Regions from separate parts of the Homo sapiens genome. Here regions 2, 3 and 4 are each linked to region 1. The links are contacts of gene promoters, found by promoter capture Hi-C in human tissues and cell types (Jung and others, 2019). All regions are on one chromosome and are shown on one strand. Each heading gives the region's core, a stretch centred on a gene start or on the middle of the fragment in contact. The rest is flanking DNA. Distances are from core to core; before and after follow the strand shown. Region 1 holds the start of KCNK7 (potassium two pore domain channel subfamily K member 7). Region 2 holds the start of CDC42EP2 (CDC42 effector protein 2). Region 3 holds the start of C11orf68 (chromosome 11 open reading frame 68). Region 4 holds the start of FAU (FAU ubiquitin like and ribosomal protein S30 fusion).

Region 1 (3,226 bases), core at 227-2,726:
CGCCTGTAATCCCAGCACTTTGGGAGGCCGAGACGGACAGATCACAAGGTCAGGATTTTGAGACCAGCCTGGCCAATATGGTGAAACCCCGTCTCTACTGAAAAAAATATATATATATACAAAAATTAACCAGGCGTGGTGGCAGGTGCCTGTAGCCCCAGCTACTTGGGAGGCTGAGGCAGGAGAATAGCTTGAACCCGGGCGGCGAAGGTTGAGTGAGCCGAGATTGCACCACTGCACTCCAGCCTGGGCGACAGAGCGAGACTCCATCTCAAAAAAAAGAGTAGTAAGTTCCACCCACCTCCCAGTATGGTGACTTGCCATGGCATCTGGCACCCCTGACAGTTCTCTTCACACTGCCATGGGGGCTCTGGCACTCCCACACCATACCCTAGGGCAGGGTCCCTCCCTCGGCCTCTGTCCATTCTCTTCACACTGCCATGGGGGCTCTGGCACTCCCACACCATACCCTAGGGCTGGGTCCCTTCCTTGGCCTCTGTCCTCAGCCCCTCTGACGTTAGAGGAGTTGGAACCCAGGCTCCCCCTTCCCCTCTCCCAGGTGCCCCATGGCAGCCCAGACTCTGTGTCTGCAGTTCAGGGGCAGGGAGTCAGGAGGGCAGGCACAAAGCGTTCTCAGGAAGAACTGGCAATCGGGCGCAAGGGTATCATCTGCCCGGGTGCTCTGGGCACCCTGGAGTCCTCTCCCCACCTCCCACCCCCACCTGATCCTTCCCAGCTGCCACCATTCCTCTCCCACCACACCACCCAGGCCAAAATCACTCCATCCATGACGCCTACAGTAGCCCAGCGTAGGTCTCCCTGGACCACATTTATCCTCAAGGGCCTGTGTCCTTATCCCCCCTTCACCCCCAACTCTCCCCTGCCACAGCCAGCCCTCTGTTCCTCTCACACCCCAAGCTCATTCCTACCTTCACTGGCCTCTTACTCCCCAGCTGAAATATCACCTCCTTAGCAGAGCTTTCCCAGTGAGATAACCCCCCCGCTCCCCGCAGAGCTCTCCCATCACCCAGGGTGTTTCCTTCATGGAACTCATGACAATGTGAGGTTGCCATGTTTCTTTGCTAAGAGGTTTCTTGTGTAAACACCAGGAAGGAAAGGACCTGTGCCTGTCCTCTTCCCTAAGCACTTGAATGAATGAATGAATGAATGAATGTGGTATGGGTGCCTGAGTGAGCAGGACCTTGAATAAGTGTGAGGTCCTCTCTAGGCTTCAGCTTCCTCCGCCTCCTCCCCTCACCGCAGCCGCCTTCCTCCACCCATCCCCACCATCCCAGCTGCTGTGAAATGGGCAAATGTCTTGCCTCCAGGACCTGGGAAGGGTGATGCAGCTCACCTCCCTCCTGTTCACACCCCAGCCACCCCAGCCATCCCAGCCGGGTCCCAGCCACCCACACAGCACCTCCTCCTGGCCCCGCCCTGCCCAGCCCCTCCCAGGTGCCTGAGGTGGAGCCGCCAGTTCCCACAGCACCCCAGCGGCCTGCCATGGGGGGTCTAAGGCCCTGGTCCCGATACGGGCTCCTGGTTGTGGCCCACTTGCTGGCCCTGGGGCTTGGGGCTGTGGTGTTCCAGGCCCTGGAGGGGCCTCCTGCATGCAGGCTTCAGGCTGAGCTCAGGGCAGAGCTGGCAGCCTTCCAGGCAGAGCATAGGGCCTGCCTGCCACCCGGAGCTCTGGAAGAGCTGCTGGGCACTGCCCTGGCCACCCAGGCCCATGGGGTCTCCACCCTGGGCAACAGCTCAGAGGGCAGGACCTGGGACCTTCCCTCAGCCCTGCTCTTCGCTGCCAGCATCCTCACCACCACAGGTAAGAGAGCCAGGCAGCCAAGTCGGGGGGTGCGGCTCCAAGAGGCCATGGCTCCCTGGGGGCTTTGGGGTTCATGCAGCCCTTCCTTCAGCCCCAAAGAGCCAGATGGAGCCCAGGCCCTGTGAGGCCTGACATCACAGCTGGGGCTCCCCACCAACACACCCCAACTGGTGCCTCCACTTCAACTGCCAGGAAGGGTGTGGCCTCCCCAGTCCCACCCCAGGCACCCTTTGAGACCCAGGAGAGCTGCCCAGATGCCACAGCCTGTGGCCAGATAGGGGATACAATACAGTGGGATGGATTCTTGGATGGAAGCAAATAGAATGAACCTGGGAAGGACAGATCAGGACCATGGCCTCGGGTGGGGGAGTGAGGGAAGATAGGGGAGGAAGTCGGCATGAGATGCTTGTGGATCAGGAGGGCACAGACAGGGATGAGGGAGTCCTGCAGAGAAATCGCGTGGGCACAGGCCCAGGGAAAAGCAGCAATGAGACCCACAGCCCTGGGTTTTCGTATTTTTTGCCCCACAAAGTGTCTCAGTATTTTTTGAATTGGAATTTGTATTTCCAACTTTTTTTTTTTTTGAAACGGTGTCTGACCCTGTCACCCAGGCTGGGGTGCGGTGGTGCGATCTTGGCTCACTGCAACCTCCACCTCCCGGGTTCTAGCAATTCTCCTGCCTCAGCCTCCTGAGTAGCTGGGACTACAGGCATGCACCACCATGCCCGGCTAATTTTTGTGTTTTTAGTAGAGACGGGGTTTTGCCATGTTGGCCAGGCTGTTCTCAAACTCCTGACCTCAAGTGATCCACCTGCCTCAGCCTCCCAAAGTGTTGGGATTACAGGTGTGAGCCACTGTGCCCAGCTCATATTTCCAACTTCTTTTGGAAAATCAGGAAACCCACTCACACTGAGCCAGAATCCCTGCAAGGCAACATCCTGACTGGAGCAGAATGGGGCCTGCCCTTTGGATACAGCTCACACTTTCCAGTGTACCCCTGTCCCCACCACTCCTGTTTGTCTCCCATCTGGCTCCGGTAGGCATGTGCGTTTGCAGCTCTGTATTAGCTGATCCTGTTCTCCCAGCACACCCCGCACTCCCACCCCTCCCCGCCTGGCACATGCCCTCTCTCGCCCATGCTGCCTCTTTGCAGCCCTTCATGATTTGCCTGCCCGACTCCCCCACCAGAAGGGGCAGGGCCTGGGCTGATTCAGATCCCAGTACAAAGCCTGGCACACAGGACATGACACACATTTGGGGAAAGAGTGGATGATATTCCACCAGCTGTGGAATCGGGAGTATCTGTTAAGGGCAGCGCAGTTCTCAGAATTGTCCCAGCTACAAAAGGCCTGAGGAACTGTCTTCTTTCATCCTTTCATTTTCCAAAAAAGAAAAGAATGGCCT
Region 2 (3,419 bases), core at 665-3,164, 280 kb after region 1:
CTGGGAATTACAACCCTCACGCCCCAGGAATTTAGATTTGGCAACTGCAAGACCCTAGGATCCAGCTTGCCACGCACAGTTTCTCATCTTAAAGCTCCCAGTCACGGCATGGTGGGGTCATTACGGCCCTTTACAGAAGTCGAAGCTGAACCTCAGAGATGTTAAGTAACATTGGCGACGTCATCCAGTTAGGAAGTGGAAGAGTGGGTACCCAGCCTGGTCCACGTGGTTCCCATGCAGTGGGCCACGCCTACTTCCATAATATGTTTGGGGAGCGGGAGAGAAAGGGGCTCACAGCTAGGCTGGGAACAGTGGGTCCCCAGATCTCCTCCATCTACATCCTGACCTTTGGCTGCCCCCGTCTGCCCAACTTTCATGTGTCCAGAGATATGAGAATGAGGTCTCCATCAGGACAGGGCTGTGGGGAGCTGGGAGGGGAGCTCCCTGCAGCAGTCGGGGAGCAGATAGGAGCATCCTAGCTCTCTGTGATTGCCCTGGACAGGAGCCCTGGACCTCCCAATGAGAAAATGACTTCCGGCAGGCAGGGATCCTCCTATCATGAAGAATATTAGGCCACCTCACACCCCCTCTTCTCCTAAATCAGGAGACTGTCCTTAAATCCAGCTCCACCTGGGACTTCCTCAGTAACCTTCAGCAAGACGCCTCTCCTCTCTGGGTCTCACCTTTCCCATCTATAAAATGGGCTGACAACGAAGCCACCACTAAAGGGCCACTGGAGATCCCACTGCAATATTGCAGGTGAGAGCGCCAATGTACAATAGCGGGGTTCAGCGGGTCACTGTAGGTTTTATCATTCATTCAGCAAATATCTACAAGGCCTTCCTTCCTCAAGCACTTCGATTCTCCGGGGCCAGTGCTTTGAACAATAGCAAAAACGAAGGGCTCCTGACCCCAGGCGTCCACCTCCTCCCGCCCTCCTAGACCTCGAGGATGCAGAGACCCTCTAGCGGCCGCTGGGTCTCCCGGGGTCCCGGTGCCTCCGGAGAGGTGCCCGGCTCCGCGGCCGCCAGGTGGCGCGCGTGCTCCCTTGATCGCCTCGTGTCCCGGAGGACTCCGAGAGCGCACCGGGGTCTCCAGCGCCCCTCCCCCGGGCTCCAGGCAGGCGGTCCCCAAGGAGCTGCGCGTTCAAGTACCAGATGGGGATTACCTGCGAGATCTTTTTGCTTCGGGGTTTCTGGTCCCACAATCGGGGAAAAAGGGGGCGATTGGGGACCCTGCCCTAGTCTCCAAGCTCTGGGAGGAGCCTCCCCCCTGTGCTTTCCGGCCTGGGCGATGTCCTAGTGTCCGCTCGGCACAGGGCCAGAGCTCGGGCGTGCGGGCCCCCGCCCCTCCCACGGGTCCGGCTCCTTAGCTCCGGCTCGGGTTCCTGCGCCGACCCCTCCCCACTCCTACCCGGGCGGAGCCCAGCCCAGCCCGGATCCGTTTCAGGACATTCGCGGCCGCAGCTAAAGATAGGAGAACAACTCACTATCGGCTAAAAATACGGCCCCCAGCCCCGGTGGGGATGCTGGGCGGCGGGGCACCCCTGGGTCTCGGGAGGGGGGCGGGGGCCCGGACACAAAATGGAGGGCAGAACGGGGAATTCGGGGTCGGGATGCGTTGCGCCCCCACGGACCGTGGCGGGCACGGGCGAGGCTGCGGGAACCCAGATGCGGGTGGGAAGCCCCATGGAGCCCTAGGAGCCCTCGAAAGGAACTGAGTGAGGTGAGAGGCAGAGCCAGGGCGCGAGCTGGGGCGGGGCGCCACAGAGATGGGCCTCTCGGGGGACCCCCGCGAAGCTGCGAAAATCCCAGCCCGAACTCACCGTGAGGCGCGCAGACGGCAGACCGGCGGACAGCAAGGTCTCAGGAGCTGGACAGCGCGGCGGCCGGACCCGACCGGCGGTGAACTTACAGAGTGCACCGCGGACCCCGCAGCCCCGCCCCGGCCCGCGGAGCCAATGCCGGGGCCGCGCCAGCCAAGCCCCTCCCCATCCCCGCCCAGGCCCCGCCCCACTCCGGGCACCGCCCGGGGCTCCCGGCGTGGGAGGTGCCGCTCCCGGGTCCAGCGGTCGCGCGCGCCCTGGAGTCCTGTCCTGGTTCTGGCGGCTGAGGGCCGGGTGGCGCAGGCGGCCTCCGGCTGTGCCCATGGGAACTAAAACCTTCGGTTCTAGAAGAGCCGGGGGAGAGGCTCCGGGAAGACCGAATTCTTCAGAAATCGCAGAGAGACCTTGGACCGGATCCTTCCCTGCAGGGCTGCGTCGGGGAAGCGCCGGCACAAGTATATTCAGCGACTTCCTTGGAAGCGCCTACGTTAGAATACTACAAACTTACAAGCTAGTTGATCAGTTTACCTCCCACTAGAAAAGACAGTATGGGAAGGCAGAGGCCGCGTGGCCTGGACCCCCGTCTTTGCTGTCAGGCTTCCAGAGTGAAGGTGGGGCTCATATTCAGACTAGTTCCTGGTCCATTCATTCTTTCAGTCAGTCAGTCAGTCATTCCTACAGGGCCAGAAACTTTTTTTTTTTTTGAGACAGAGTTTCGCTCTTGTTGCCCAGACTGCTCACCGCAACCTCCGTCTCCTGGGTTCAAGAGATTCTCCTGCCTCAGCCTCCCGAGTAGCTGGGATTACAGGCATGTGCCAGCACACCTGGCTAATTTTTGTATTCTTAGTAGAGACGGAGTTTCTCCATGTTGGCCAGGCTGGTCTCGAATTCCCGACCTCAAGTGATCTGCCCGCCTCGGCCTCCCGAAGTGCTGCAATTACAGGCGTGAGCCACCGCGCCCGGCCCAGAAACATGTTTTGAAGGGCAGGCACCGCACAGGGTGCTGGAGACAGACTGAAGGAAACTGCACCTCTCAGTGACTCAAGAGAGATTTGTTGAGTATCTACCAAGTGCCTAGCGCTGTTCTTGTCCCTGGGGATTCAGCCTCTGGATTGGGACCTGCAGCCCAGAGAAGGGAAATGGGGGAAATCCAAGTTCCCAGGTACATCATGATACCCTTCCAGGTGGGTAAGTGCTAAGAAGAGTGGGGCAGAGGAAGTGGTGGGTAGTGACGGGGTGGACAGACCTCACTTTCTAGAGGATGACAGCTATGCCAGCTCAGTGTGACCAGGATGGTTGGCTTCAATGCTGTCAGTGTGGGAAGGGCTTTTAGGGAGGCAGAGCCGGGAAGACCTCAGTGGGGGAGGCAGGATGCTGGGGGTGGGGGAAGATGCCAGACAAGCTGGGAGGTCCGGATGGGAAGAAGGGGATCATGGTAGGTAAAATAACAGCCCCCCTAAATATGTTCACATCTAGCCAGGTGCTGTGGCTCATGCCTATAATCCCAGCACTTTGGGAGGCCAAGGTGGGAGGATTGCTTGGGTCCAGGAGTTTGACACTGACACCAGCCTGAGCAACATAGTGAGACCCTGTT
Region 3 (3,103 bases), core at 316-2,815, 320 kb before region 1:
CTTGCTTTTCGTTCCCATCCCACCGTTCTTCCGGCCGCCGCTGCCTGGCTTCCGGCCCCTTTGGGAAGGTACAGTCCATCTGCCCGGAGTGCTCCCTACTCCTTGGCCACCCCCAAGCCCTGTGGCCTTGGCCTTCCCCACTGTATGCCAGGCCCTGGCCCCACCTGCGGGCGCCCTTGTCCCCATCCATGTGGTTGTCTTCCCCGTCCCCCTGCATGTCGGGAACAGATGCCACCAGGTCCTTCAAGAAGTCAAACTGCTGCTCCAGCTCGATGCACTGCTTCCTGGAAGAGGTGAGGAGGGGCTGGCACTCAAGAGGGGCCCAGACACCCAAACCCGCAGTGGGTGGCAGCAAGGGGCCCCAGATGTCAGGCTGGAGCCCGGGCCGATCTCCGCTCCCGGGCCTGCCCTGCTTTACTCAGGTGGCTCCCTCTGCCTGGAAGCCCAGCCTCTCCTCTGCCAGTCTGTGGCCTTGCTGGTGTCCCGGCTGCCGCCCACCTCCCTCGCCACCCAGGCTCTGCCTTCCTCAGTGTGTGAACTCCCCGCGCCAAACCCGCCGGCCCCTCCCGGCTCCTCGCCGCTCACAGGTGGGATGTGGTCATGGTCTTCGCGTTCCGCGACTGGGTCACCTGGCAGGCCTTCTTCAACAGCGACTCTAGGAAGAGCTCGAGCGCCCGGGCTGAGGAGCGTCAAGGAGAACTCCGGGGCAGGAGAGGGCGACCCGCTGCCTCCCTCCCCCACGCCCCTCGACCCGGTCCGCCCCCGGCAGGATACAGATGATGACAGGCACCGCCGCCGCCACCTTCCCAATCTCTTCGTCCGTCTGCATGATCTTCTTGATCCGCGCCTGCGGGTGGGGGAGCAGAGTTCAGACCCCGTCGCCACCGTCCCCTAAGGGGGTGCTGGGGGAGGAAGGGGCATCCCCGGAGAAAGGGGGCGGGGGACACGGACGCGGGGAGGGCATGGAGGGGGCGGGGCGTCCAGGCCCCCGAACACCGCGGCGCGCCCGCCTGCCCAGCGGGAACTGGGCCCAAGCCACCCGGGAGCCGGGCCCACTCCTGCCGGGCTCTGCCACGTGCTCACCGGCGGGAACCGCGCGTTGTACTTCTTCTTCTTGCTCGGCATCTCGGGGCCTCTCTCGCCGCGTCGGGTCCAGCGCCGCCGCCCGCAGCCTCCCGGCTCCCGGGCCTGCTCGCCGCCCGCCCGTCGCGGTTCCCCTGGGTCCTGGTGCCGCCCGCTCCGCCCCCGCCGTTTCCCGCGGAGTCCTAGCGCCGCCGGTTAAGACGCCGCTCGCAGGGCCCTAGTGCCCTCCTCTTGAAGCCTCCTGGCCGGTGCGCGTCCCTCCCCAGTCTGGACCGCCGCTCCCGCCCGCCCCCAAGGCCAGAAGAGCGAACGTTGGCCCCGCCCCCCGCGGCCCGCCCCTCCCGGGGTTCCCGCGATGGCCCCGCCCCCGAGTCAGCACCTCCCCGTCGGCCCCGCCCCTTCCCCTGCCGGCCCCGCCCCACAGCGCGGCCGCTGCGGCCGCTGAGGCCCGCGGCTCCGCCCTGTGGCTGCGCCTGTCTATAAAGTTGTTGTTGAGGTGGCGCGGCGCTAAGATGGCGGCGGCGGCGGCGGCGGCCGTGGCGGGGGTGGGGCGCGGTGGCGGTGGCGCGGAGCCACGGCAGGAGCGGAGCCGGGCCCGGGGCTGGGCCGGCGTCGAACGCAGCGAAGGCCGGAGGTGACTGCGGGCGGCGGGAGGGGCAGGGCAGGGCCGGGGCGGGAGCACAGCTCGGGCCCGTGGGCGTTAATGGCGGCGGGCGCGGCACGGCCGGAGCCTGGCTCTCCTGCAGGCTCTAACAAGCCCTGGTTCGAGTCTGGGAACCGCCCCATTGGCCTCGGAACGGCCTGTAACCTCTCTGGACTTCAGCGTCCTCGTCTGTAAGTGGGCCCGATAACGCCTGCCTGGGAGGCCTGGCCTTACAGAGCCGGCCTCGGGAGCTGCGCGAACGTGCGCTTCTTTGCGTTCCTCTATTAAATGCCAGCGCACCGGATACCTGCCAGGAAAAGGGGGCCTTGGCAGGGCCGGGAGGTGTAGCTGGGGCTGGTTGCTCCCACGCCTGGATTCACCCTTCGGCCCTGCCACGCACTGCAGGTGTGACCTTGGGCAAGTCCTTTTTCTCAGCCTCAGTTTCCTTTTCTGTAAGTCAAGGAGAATAGTAATAACTGCAGCAACCCTTCTGGAGCGCTGACTCCTCAGGCATCTAATTTTCATAGCAGATCTACGGGACAGGAACAGTTGTTATCCCATTGTAAAGATGAGGCAACTGAGGCGCATCGACAGTAACTCTTACTCAAGGCCACAGTTTAATCCAGTGCCTGGCATCTGTAGTTATTGTCTCAGACCCTGCCCTGACTCGGTTCCCTCACAGCAGGATGGAACCAGGTGAGGAGCTGGAAGAGGAGGGCTCTCCAGGTGGCCGTGAGGATGGCTTCACCGCCGAGCACCTGGCTGCAGAGGCCATGGCAGCTGACATGGACCCCTGGCTAGTGTTTGATGCCCGCACAACGCCTGCCACTGAGCTGGATGCCTGGCTGGCCAAGTACCCACCATCCCAAGTTACCCGCTATGGGGACCCCGGTTCACCCAACTCAGAGCCTGTGGGCTGGATTGCAGTGTATGGGCAGGGCTACAGCCCCAACTCCGGGGACGTGCAGGGCCTGCAGGCAGCCTGGGAAGCTCTGCAGACCAGTGGGCGGCCCATCACACCGGGTACCCTGCGCCAGCTCGCCATCACCCACCACGTGCTCTCGGGCAAGTGGCTTATGCATCTGGCACCGGGCTTCAAGCTGGACCACGCCTGGGCTGGCATTGCCCGGGCCGTGGTTGAAGGCCAGCTTCAGGTGGCCAAGGTGAGCCCACGTGCCAAGGAGGGTGGGCGCCAGGTCATCTGTGTTTACACGGACGACTTCACGGACCGCTTGGGTGTACTGGAGGCGGATTCAGCCATCCGTGCAGCGGGCATTAAGTGCCTGCTCACCTACAAGCCTGATGTCTACACCTACCTGGGCATCTACCGGGCCAATCGCTGGCACCTCTGCCCCACTCTCTATGAGAGCCGTTTCC
Region 4 (3,569 bases), core at 639-3,138, 470 kb after region 1:
CAGCTACTTGGGAGGCTGAGGCAGGAGAATTGCTTGAACCCAGGAGGTGGAGGTTGCAGTGAGCTAAGATCGCACCATTGCACTCCAGCCTCGGTGACAGAGCGACGAGACTCTCTCAAACAAAACAAAACAAAACAAATTCCTGCATGGCCATCTGTCCAACAACTGCCTGTCCAATCTTGAACTGGCACCACCCATGTTATTCATCCTTGTAGCCAAGGATAACTGTCTCAAAACAATTATGTAATACTCATTTTTCCTTTCCTTTATTTATTTTTATTATTTTTTTAGATAGAGTCTCACTCTGTCACCTAGGCTGGAGTGCAGTGGTGTGATCTCGGCTCACTGCAACCTCCGCCTCCCAAGTTCAAGCAAGTCTCCTACCTCAGCCTCCCAAGTAGCTGGGACTACAGGCACACGCCATCACACCCGGCTAATTTTTGTATTTTTTCTAGAGACGGGTTTCACCATGTTGGCCAGGCTTGTCTCAAACTCCTGACTCCAGGTGATCTACGCGCCTTGGCCTCCCAAAGTGCTGGGATTACAGGCGTGAGCCACCGTGCCTGGCCCATTTTTCTGTTAAAAACCTTTGTCTTCTTTTACCTCCCTGATAAGCACATAGTCTATACCCATTCCCGAATAAATATCCTTTTCTTTTAGAGTCTGTTATTTAGGTTGACATAAGATAGCACCAGTCTTTGGTTTTCCATGGTGCAGGGTACAGATGGGATGGAAAGGAGGCTCAGGTACTCTGAATGGTCTGCCTCTCAGGATTTCTGTGGGATGCAAAAGAGTATATGTACACTTCTGAAAAGTCAATCAAGCCTTTAGAAACTTAAGGCTTAACTTTCTGTCTCGGTTTTAGAAATAGATATTATTATATTGGCAGCGTGGCCTTGTTTGTACCTCCATGATTGCCTGGCTGGCCTTGCTAACCTAATCACATCTGTGACGGGATATAGTGATGTTTAATCTTATGATTGCCTTAAGAATTAAGGCAATCAGACGGGTTCGGCGGCTCATGCCTGTAATCCCAGCACTTTGGGAGGCCGAGGCGGGCGGATCACGAGGTCAGAAGATCCAGTCCATCCTGGCTAACAAGGTGAAACCCCGTCTCTACTAAAAATACAAAAAATTAGCCGGGCATGGTGGCGGGAGCCTGTAGTCCCAGCTACTCGGGAGGCTGAGGCAGGAGGATGGCGTGAATCTGGGAGGCGGAGCTTGCAGTGGGCCGAGATCGCGCCACTGCCCTCCAGCCTGGGCGACAGAGCGAGACTCCGTCTCAAAAAAAAAAAAAAAAAGAATTAAGGCAATCATAATTCCCCACGCACACTCATATGCTAGGACCCCGCCCCTTACCTGAAACGTTGTGGCTTATATAGACACTGCCAGGCACTGTGTTAAGTGCTCCCAAAGAGCACCCCAGTCTACCATTTTCCCTCTCGATTCTATATGTACACTCGGGACAAGTTCTCCTGATCGAAAACGGCAAAACTAAGGCCCCAAGTAGGAATGCCTTAGTTTTCGGGGTTAACAATGATTAACACTGAGCCTCACACCCACGCGATGCCCTCAGCTCCTCGCTCAGCGCTCTCACCAACAGCCGTAGCCCGCAGCCCCGCTGGACACCGGTTCTCCATCCCCGCAGCGTAGCCCGGAACATGGTAGCTGCCATCTTTACCTGCTACGCCAGCCTTCTGTGCGCGCAACTGTCTGGTCCCGCCCCGTCCTGCGCGAGCTGCCTGCCCAGGCAGGTTCGCCGGTGCGAGCGTAAAGGGGCGGAGCTAGGACTGCCTTGGGCGGTACAAATAGCAGGGAACCGCGCGGTCGCTCAGCAGTGACGTGACACGCAGCCCACGGTCTGTACTGACGCGCCCTCGCTTCTTCCTCTTTCTCGACTCCATCTTCGCGGTAGCTGGGACCGCCGTTCAGGTAAGAATGGGGCCTTGGCTGGATCCGAAGGGCTTGTAGCAGGTTGGCTGCGGGGTCAGAAGGCGCGGGGGGAACCGAAGAACGGGGCCTGCTCCGTGGCCCTGCTCCAGTCCCTATCCGAACTCCTTGGGAGGCCTGGCCTTCCCCACGTGAGCCGCCGCGACCACCATCCCGTCGCGATCGTTTCTGGACCGCTTTCCACTCCCAAATCTCCTTTATCCCAGAGCATTTCTTGGCTTCTCTTACAAGCCGTCTTTTCTTTACTCAGTCGCCAATATGCAGCTCTTTGTCCGCGCCCAGGAGCTACACACCTTCGAGGTGACCGGCCAGGAAACGGTCGCCCAGATCAAGGTAAGGCTGCTTGGTGCGCCCTGGGTTCCATTTTCTTGTGCTCTTCACTCTCGCGGCCCGAGGGAACGCTTACGAGCCTTATCTTTCCCTGTAGGCTCATGTAGCCTCACTGGAGGGCATTGCCCCGGAAGATCAAGTCGTGCTCCTGGCAGGCGCGCCCCTGGAGGATGAGGCCACTCTGGGCCAGTGCGGGGTGGAGGCCCTGACTACCCTGGAAGTAGCAGGCCGCATGCTTGGAGGTGAGTGAGAGAGGAATGTTCTTTGAAGTACCGGTAAGCGTCTAGTGAGTGTGGGGTGCATAGTCCTGACAGCTGAGTGTCACACCTATGGTAATAGAGTACTTCTCACTGTCTTCAGTTCAGAGTGATTCTTCCTGTTTACATCCCTCATGTTGAACACAGACGTCCATGGGAGACTGAGCCAGAGTGTAGTTGTATTTCAGTCACATCACGAGATCCTAGTCTGGTTATCAGCTTCCACACTAAAATTAGGTCAGACCAGGGCCCCCAAAGTGCTCTATAAAATTAGAAGCTGGAAGATCCTGAAATGAAACTTAAGATTTCAAGGTCAAATATCTGCAACTTTGTTCTCATTACCTATTGGGCGCAGCTTCTCTTTAAAGGCTTGAATTGAGAAAAGAGGGGTTCTGCTGGGTGGCACCTTCTTGCTCTTACCTGCTGGTGCCTTCCTTTCCCACTACAGGTAAAGTCCATGGTTCCCTGGCCCGTGCTGGAAAAGTGAGAGGTCAGACTCCTAAGGTGAGTGAGAGTATTAGTGGTCATGGTGTTAGGACTTTTTTTCCTTTCACAGCTAAACCAAGTCCCTGGGCTCTTACTCGGTTTGCCTTCTCCCTCCCTGGAGATGAGCCTGAGGGAAGGGATGCTAGGTGTGGAAGACAGGAACCAGGGCCTGATTAACCTTCCCTTCTCCAGGTGGCCAAACAGGAGAAGAAGAAGAAGAAGACAGGTCGGGCTAAGCGGCGGATGCAGTACAACCGGCGCTTTGTCAACGTTGTGCCCACCTTTGGCAAGAAGAAGGGCCCCAATGCCAACTCTTAAGTCTTTTGTAATTCTGGCTTTCTCTAATAAAAAAGCCACTTAGTTCAGTCATCGCATTGTTTCATCTTTACTTGCAAGGCCTCAGGGAGAGGTGTGCTTCTCGGGTTGGTGGTATGTCCCCTAGGAGAACAGTGAGGCAGAAAAGGCAGAAGCCTTTGGTATGGGGGGAAGAAATGGTAAACTACAAGAGAAATTTCCTGTGAAGAAACAGCTACAGATCCTGGGGGG

Evidence for each region. The method cuts DNA at HindIII sites, captures the fragments that hold promoters and counts their contacts. A contact is called where the count stands out against the background at its distance.
Region 2: a contact is called between the fragment with the promoter of CDC42EP2 here and the fragment with the promoter of KCNK7 in region 1, in 2 of the 25 tissues and cell types used here (pancreas and spleen).
Region 3: the fragment with the promoter of C11orf68 here is called in contact with the fragment with the promoter of KCNK7 in region 1 in 1 of the 25 tissues and cell types used here (dorsolateral prefrontal cortex).
Region 4: a contact is called between the fragment with the promoter of FAU here and the fragment with the promoter of KCNK7 in region 1, in 1 of the 25 tissues and cell types used here (lymphoblastoid cells).

The regions. Positions count from the first base shown.
Region 1 is chr11:65,594,050-65,597,275 of GRCh38, reverse strand. KCNK7 (potassium two pore domain channel subfamily K member 7) reads left to right here and starts at 1,476. Exons shown (of 3, transcript NM_033347.2): 1 at 1,476-1,822. The coding sequence starts at 1,504. The HindIII fragment of the contact is 18,543 bases long and covers 1-3,226 here.
Region 2 is chr11:65,313,361-65,316,779 of GRCh38, reverse strand. It overlaps CDC42EP2 (CDC42 effector protein 2), which reads right to left and starts at 1,914. Exons shown (of 2, transcript NM_006779.4): 1 at 1,826-1,914. It overlaps LOC105369344 (a long non-coding RNA gene), which reads left to right and starts at 2,091. Exons shown (of 3, transcript XR_007062727.1): 1 at 2,091-3,009. RefSeq lists silencers at 957-1,116, 1,287-1,416, 1,877-2,256. The HindIII fragment of the contact is 18,736 bases long and covers 1-3,419 here.
Region 3 is chr11:65,917,524-65,920,626 of GRCh38, reverse strand. C11orf68 (chromosome 11 open reading frame 68) reads left to right here and starts at 1,565. Exons shown (of 2, transcript NM_001135635.2): 1 at 1,565-1,717; 2 at 2,409-3,103. The coding sequence starts at 1,596. It overlaps DRAP1 (DR1 associated protein 1), which reads right to left and starts at 1,201. Exons shown (of 7, transcript NM_006442.4): 1 at 1,084-1,201; 2 at 775-847; 3 at 586-679; 4 at 165-284; 5 at 1-58. The coding sequence starts at 1,125. RefSeq lists enhancers at 608-1,528, 1,529-2,448 and a silencer at 742-1,811. The HindIII fragment of the contact is 24,812 bases long and covers 1-3,103 here.
Region 4 is chr11:65,120,453-65,124,021 of GRCh38, reverse strand. FAU (FAU ubiquitin like and ribosomal protein S30 fusion) reads left to right here and starts at 1,888. Exons shown (of 5, transcript NM_001997.5): 1 at 1,888-1,932; 2 at 2,201-2,283; 3 at 2,378-2,522; 4 at 2,986-3,041; 5 at 3,216-3,392. The coding sequence starts at 2,209. The coding sequence ends at 3,341. It overlaps MRPL49 (mitochondrial ribosomal protein L49), which reads right to left and starts at 1,701. Exons shown (of 4, transcript NM_004927.4): 1 at 1,598-1,701. The coding sequence starts at 1,675. RefSeq lists enhancers at 1,411-1,680, 1,841-1,930. The HindIII fragment of the contact is 8,684 bases long and covers 1-2,316 here.